Regions from separate parts of the Homo sapiens genome. Here region 1 is linked to region 2. Evidence: promoter capture Hi-C in 16 types of primary human blood cells and fetal thymus (Javierre and others, 2016). All regions are on one chromosome and are shown on one strand. Each heading gives the region's core, a stretch centred on a gene start or on the middle of the fragment in contact. The rest is flanking DNA. Distances are from core to core; before and after follow the strand shown. Region 1 has its middle 150 kb from the start of FOXN3-AS2. Region 2 holds the start of FOXN3 (forkhead box N3).

What was found. The method cuts DNA at HindIII sites, captures the fragments that hold promoters and counts their contacts. A CHiCAGO score of 5 or more calls a contact.
Region 1: a fragment that was not itself captured here is called in contact with the fragment with the promoter of FOXN3 in region 2 in 5 of 17 cell types (non-activated CD4 T cells, naive CD4 T cells, activated CD4 T cells and 2 more); the score reaches 8.1 in non-activated CD4 T cells.

The regions. Positions count from the first base shown.
Region 1 is chr14:89,725,937-89,729,119 of GRCh38, forward strand. No RefSeq gene overlaps it. Among named protein-coding and RNA genes, the nearest start is that of FOXN3-AS2, 150 kb to the left of the region's middle. The HindIII fragment of the contact is 2,177 bases long and covers 779-2,955 here.
Region 2 is chr14:89,415,210-89,418,515 of GRCh38, forward strand. It overlaps FOXN3 (forkhead box N3), which reads right to left and starts at 2,024. Exons shown (of 6, transcript NM_005197.4): 1 at 1,662-2,024. It overlaps FOXN3-AS1 (FOXN3 antisense RNA 1), which reads left to right and starts at 2,145. Exons shown (of 2, transcript NR_036500.1): 1 at 2,145-2,587. RefSeq lists enhancers at 876-1,170, 1,185-1,718, 1,719-2,251, 1,876-2,170 and silencers at 1,866-2,075, 2,116-2,405. The HindIII fragment of the contact is 2,355 bases long and covers 750-3,104 here.

The sequences.
Region 1 (3,183 bases), core at 617-3,116, 310 kb after region 2:
CACCTAAAATTTTACTAACTCTAATAAAGATATTACAGTTGAAATTTCCCTGTGTCTGTGTGTCTAATATTGTTATACTCTTCTATCTGATGAAACTTTTTACAGATCTTGGAAGGCAGCCCTCAGTTAACCAAGTTTAATGGAGATACACAAGGGAAAATTGATGACCTGAATGTATTTACAAGTTCCCATGAAAATGACTATCAATCTCTTCAATGATGATGTTTTACGTTGAATATGGTGCTTGGAACTGGATACAATATAAATACCCTGTAAACATGGACGCAACCATTTTAAGCAACTTGAAAAACACACTGATGGTTCATGGGATGCAGATTTCCTGTGTGTGGGGCTTTAGAATGCCAAGTCTTTGGTTAATTCTTTTTTTTTTTTTTCTTTGAAGCAGAGTCTCTGTCACCCACGCTGGAGTGCAGTGGCATGATCTCGGCTCACTGCAACCTCTGCCTCCCAGGTTGAAATGATTCTCGTGCCTCAGCCCCCGGAGTAGCTGCAACTACAGGCATGAACAACCATGCCTGACTAATTTTTGTGTTTTTAGTAGAGATGGAGTTTCACCATGTTGGCCAGGCTAGTCTCGAACTCCTGACCTCAGGTGATCCACCCACCTCGGCCTCCCAAAATGGTGGGATTACAGGTGTGAGCCACTGCACCCTATCCAAAAATGCCAAGCCTTTGGTTAATTCTGAATAGGGTCTAGGAATGATCTGTATGAACTGCTTTGTGGAGATCCTTTATCTTTTGGCAACAAATTGCTGAAAGCTTCCAAAGTAATTGTCACTTACCCTCTCATTACTTCACGTAAATCTAGAGACGGCATTTGTCAAAGGTGGGAAAGATGCCTCAGAGTTTGCCCTAGCCCAAGTTGTCCCAAAGTCATGTCAGTTTAGTATCACTCCTTGTAAATAAGTTACCACATACCAGACTATTCTAACCCAAAATATTCTTCAAGAAAAGGATATTCTTCCATAGGAGTATATAAACACAGGTATTTCTCTTGTCGTAAAGCCAGCATCACTGAACGTGGCAGGAGAAACTTGAGCAGTAATACAATATTCCAAGTAATTGTTAGCTGATCTCTTAATCTTCAAGGGACAGAATTCCTAGAAAACCAACAGAGCATCTTAACTATTCTAAGAAATTTTTCTGGGTTTCATGATCATTATGACCTTGCCTGCCAAATTCTCGGGAATCTACAGAAAATCTGTCATAAATTTTAAAATTATCCCTTAAAAATGTGTGTGAGATTATGTCCCCCGCCCTGCTCAAAACACTATAATGACTTCCTATGACAATTGGAAGAAAATTCGGTCCTCACCACGCCTCCAAGGTTCCTCATGGGCTGACCCTGCCTTCACGGGTAGCATGCTTGCACTGTCTCCCTGGGCTGTGGCCACTGTGGCCTCCCAGACTCCAGTCTGGAGCCCATGTACTCACTGTGCCCCTGCTGGGAGCATCCTTCCACCACTGACTCACCTACAGCCATGACTTGTTCCCTTATTCAGAGCTCTGTTCAGATGTCTTCCTTCCTCAGAGGGGTCTTCCCTGACCCCCTTGCTAGGGGCTGAATTATATTCTCACCAAATTCCTATGTTGAAGTCCTAGCCCCCACTACCTCAGGATGTGACTGTATTTGGAGACAGGGTCTGTAAACAGGTGATTATGTTGAGTTCACTTGAGTGTACCCTAATCCAATAGGACTGGTGCCCTTTTAAGAAGAGGAGGTTAGAACACAGACACTGATGTACACCAGACGTGGGTACACACAGAGACGGCCAAGTGAACACACAACAAAAGGCAGCTATACACCAAGGAGAGTCTCAGAAAGAATCAAACCTGCCGACACCTTGATCTCGGACTTCTAGACTCCAGAACTGCGCAAGAATAAATTTCTGTCATTTAAGACACATGGTCTCTGGTATTTCGTTATGGCAGCTCTAACAAACAAATACACCCCTCAACCTGAGAGCTACTTCCCTGACTTTACCCTGTATCCTGCCGTATGTCTCCTCATAGCACATGATAATATGTTCCTATTTATTTATGCATGATCGTCTCTCTCCCCTGTGTACAATGAAAGCTCCTTGACAGTAGGCACTTGGTCTTGTTCTCTGCTGTATTCCCGTGTCTAAAGTAGTACCTGACACATAGTAGGCATTCAATAAATATTTGATTAACAAATTACTAAATATATATTAAATAATGCACTGTAGCTAACTCTAATAGGAGCTTTGAGCAGCATATACACAGATACTGAGGTCTCATGTTTAAATCAAATGAACCAACTTATTCCCTAAATGTATAGTAACTTGTATTGAAATGACTATAATCTTGGCAGGCACCTTGTAAATGACATTGAAATAGACCTAATAACTAGAGAGGCACTGAGAGGAAGCTGTGAATATGAAATCAAATTCAAGAACATATATGTATATTTTTTTGCTGCTTTCATGGTCATTAAACTATATTTGGAATAATTAGGAAAAAACACACCACAAAGAAGCTAATGTTCAAAAGGCAGAGATACTTGAAAGTCTTTGAACACCTCACTAGAAATAATTTAACCAAATAAGATTAAAATTCCAGATCAAAGGTAGCAAAAATAAAGGGAAGAAAGGCAGTTGTGAGACTTCCCATTCCCACACATGTTTAACACTATGCAAATGATGAATAGACATGGGGTTCCCATAGCAAATAATTCCATTTCCAACATCTATAAGGAATAGCGTTGCATCACTGTTCTTGGAAATATAGCTGGTAGTTTCCATCACTCATGATCTGAATGATCTAGGAGCACATAAACAATAGAGAAAAAGAATGATACTGAAGGATGAATCTTTACTATTGTGTAATAAATCAGCAAATATGTAGTGACTACCTGCTTCTATGTGAAATTCTATCCATGGTGTTATAGGAAAATCCACCATTATATTCAAAAGCTTCATGCAATTTACATAGTCAAGGAAATCTATACTGAATGGCACTGGGCATTAAGCCCCTTGCTGGAATGTAAGCTAGGGTCACGACACTGACTCACCTGTGTATTTCAAGATCCTTACACATAATTAGTGCTCCATTAATATTTTTTGAATGAATAAAATGAATATCAAAATAAAAGTCAACGTATGGCTGCACTTCAGAAATGTAACAGCAATGGCTCAGCTT
Region 2 (3,306 bases), core at 774-3,273:
TATGTCTCCTGAGCTTCCAAACAGGAAAATTATATCATGGCTGACAGTAAAGTAATTTAATTGCACTGTTGCTATGACAACATGCTGCTCTCTTTCTTTTTAATTTGCTTATTTGTCAGTAGCTTCCCAGAGGAACTAACACGCTATTCTCCATGTTTCCTTTTGTTTTAAACAAACACTGCCAGCAATATGGTTTTAGGAGAAAAAGTGGCATTGTCACGAAGAGAGGGTTATGGGAGTTCAGTACCCTTGGATCATGTGTGCGTTTTGTGCTGGGACCCCGTACTCTCCAACCACTCACTGCATCCCTATAAATCCCGCATTTTATACCAACAGGGTGAAGAGCTGCTGATCACTACAGTTCCATGTAAAAACAAAACAAAACAACAATAACCAAAAAAAAAAAAAAAAAAAAAAAAAAACAGTTCCCAGAAACCACAGCTGAGGAGTTTTCCATTATTATACTCTAACTACAGATTTCGCCAAATCTTTTTTTCCTCCTGTTTCAGAGGGAAAAAAAAAGAATCTGGATCATGTGAGTTGCAGTTAAGCAAACATTTTTAATCTGCTGCCAACAAGGCTGCTCCACCAGATACGCAAATAGTTATTCACTGGTGACCTCCTTACAACTTTTCTCTACACACACACACACACACACACACACACACACACACCCTCTTTTGTTTTTTTTATGACTTGCTGTGTTTTGTTACCCTCTTTATTTTTTAACGGAGAAAATGCGGCAAGAAAGCTTAGTTTCTCGCCTAGTAAACAGAAGGTCTCCAAATAACTGACAAAGACATTACTGGCCCAGCTCTGAACAGATGTTCGATGCGAACTTTAAAAAGTTAAGAAATCTTCCCAGAGCCGAGCAGTAGCGAGTTTGGGGGGCCGGGTCACCCCCGCCCACCCAGCACGCGCGCGCGCGCACGCACGCGCTTCACTCTCGTCTACTGTACTTGTCAAAAACATTTCAAGGGGACCTGCGGGAGTGGCGATTGGCTGCACCCCGCGTCAATCAGCGGCGTTGCCGGGCAACGGGGGAAACTGCTCTTATCCCCATATACAGGGCAATTGGGAGCTCGCATACCTTCACTGCCGGTCAGATGTCATAAACCTTTTATTGGCCGCACCGCGGCGAGCCTCGAAAACAAATCAATAAAAGCCCGCCGTCCCCCAACTTATCCAGGGCCCAAGGAGGGTTTCAAACAGGGCCGGGATGAGGGGGGTCGGGCCTCGGGGGTCTCCGGAGACGTTCGTTGCCTGTGCCAAGTCTGCACAGTTTGGCCGGGGGGTGATCTTTGTTAGGAGCCTGTTTCTCATCTTGGGGTCTCCACTTGATCGGAACCCCCTCCCCGGCCCGGAACGGCGGGGACCCCGTCCTCCGCAGACAATACCAACTCTGTTCCTTGCGGGCGTCTTTTCGGAAACCGAGGCACCGGGAAGCAGCACGCACGTCGGGGCAGGAAACTCTTCGGACCCGGCAACTTCCCGGCTCGGGGGCTCCCGGGGTCCACACCCGACCCTCCCCCCAGGACCTGCGGGGTCCCTCGTCTTCCCAGAGCGGCGAGGTAGTCTCCAGGACCGTCTCGGACGCGCCTCCCGCCCCGGGTGCCCCCCGAGCCCACGCGGGAGCCGGCAGGAGCGGGGTGCAAACTCACCTGGCCGGAGCGGGGCACGGGGGTGCGGGGGCGCCGCTGCCCTTCAGCAGGAGCCGACAAACTTTCGCGGGCGCCCGGCGGGCATCGCTCGGTGGCCCCGCTAAGGACGCGCGGGCGCGGCGCGGCGAGCCCGGGGCGGCGGGCGGCGGGGGGCGGCCGCGGGCGCGGGCGGCAGGGGCGCGGGGGTCGCGGCGCGGCATGGGACCTGCGGCGTCCGCCGGGCGCGCCGCGCGTCCTCCCGCCGGCCCCGCCGCTCTCCCCGCCCCGTCCCGCCTCCCGCTCGCCTCCGCCGCGGCGCGTCGGGCCGGGGCGCGCCGAGCGGCGAGAAATTGTTTCCACTGCAAACAAAAAAAGGCGACACATGACCAGGCAGGAGGAGGGGAAGCGCGGGGAGGGAGGAGGGCGGAGGGAGGGACAGAGCGGAGGGCGGAGGGAGCCGGAGAAAGGGAAAACGTGGGCCTGGCCGCCAGCGGCCTGGGGCGCGGGGCACTGACCCGCCGGGGCGGACCCTGCCCGCGCCCCTCGCGCGCCCCAGCACTCAGCCAGGGCGGAGGCCGGGGCTGGGCCGCGCGGCCTCGCCTCTTGGGCCCCGCGGGGCGGGGGTGACCGGCGCGGGTCCCGCGACCCAGGGCGGCCGCGACCGTGGGCGGTGGGGCAGGTGGGTCAGGCGGCGCGTGCCCTGTCCCCTCCCCGGGCTCCGGCCACACGAGCGGGCCGGCGCTGCGCTGCTGGCAACGTGTCGCGGGAACGCTCCTACCCCATCTGCATGCCTTACATGGCTCGAAAGTAAAAATAAAAAGAATTACGATGCGGGCGAGGCTTGTGGGGGTGAGAAGAGGAGATTCCACGTCTCCCCAGTGCTGCGTCCTGATAGGACCCCCAGGGCCTTCCGAGCCCTCTCCCAGCGACCACCTCGTGTCCCGGAGGTAAGCACCGCAGCGTCCCACCCAGGTGGCCGCGTGTCTCCCGAGGGAGGGCCGGTGGCCATTACAAGACAAGAGGCACCGTCCTAAAGGCCACGCCGGTGGGGCCTCTCAAGTGGGTTGTGCGGAACGCCCCGGCCGGCCTAGAGAGAAAACAGGTCTCATTTCCATCTCAGTTTGAGCTCTCAGGAACCAGACTGACAATTCGCAAGCCACCCAGCGAAATGGTGCAGCCACCACTCTAAGTCTCTAGGCACCTCCAAATAATAGCACCCACTGCTAAAGCCACACCAACCAGCCGCCTTGGGAGAGGATGAGAGGAGAGAGTCCAACAGGACACCCTGGTGGTGACAAAAATAAAAATGTGATTGCACATTACTCCCAGGTAGCCAAATTGGTTGGTTCCTCTACAGAGGAGAAGCCCAGGGCACCCTTCCTGCCACCCCCTCCTGAGCCAGTGGACAGGACATCGTGAGCGGTCTGAAAACTACAGAAAAAAACAGCGAGTAGACCTGGAGAAAGCTTTCTAGCATGCAGTACTTTTAAACCTAGCCAAAAGGAGGGACTAAGGGAAACACCAGTTAGGCTTCTGAAAATTTTTTCTGTCTCAAAAAATAGACCCCCCCCCCCCAATCTGAGAGTCATTCCCCCTAACAAAGGTTCAAGAGGGCAGGTGACAAGTCTTCAGCAAAGATGTGCCTTTCAGACTCACCGGAGACCTT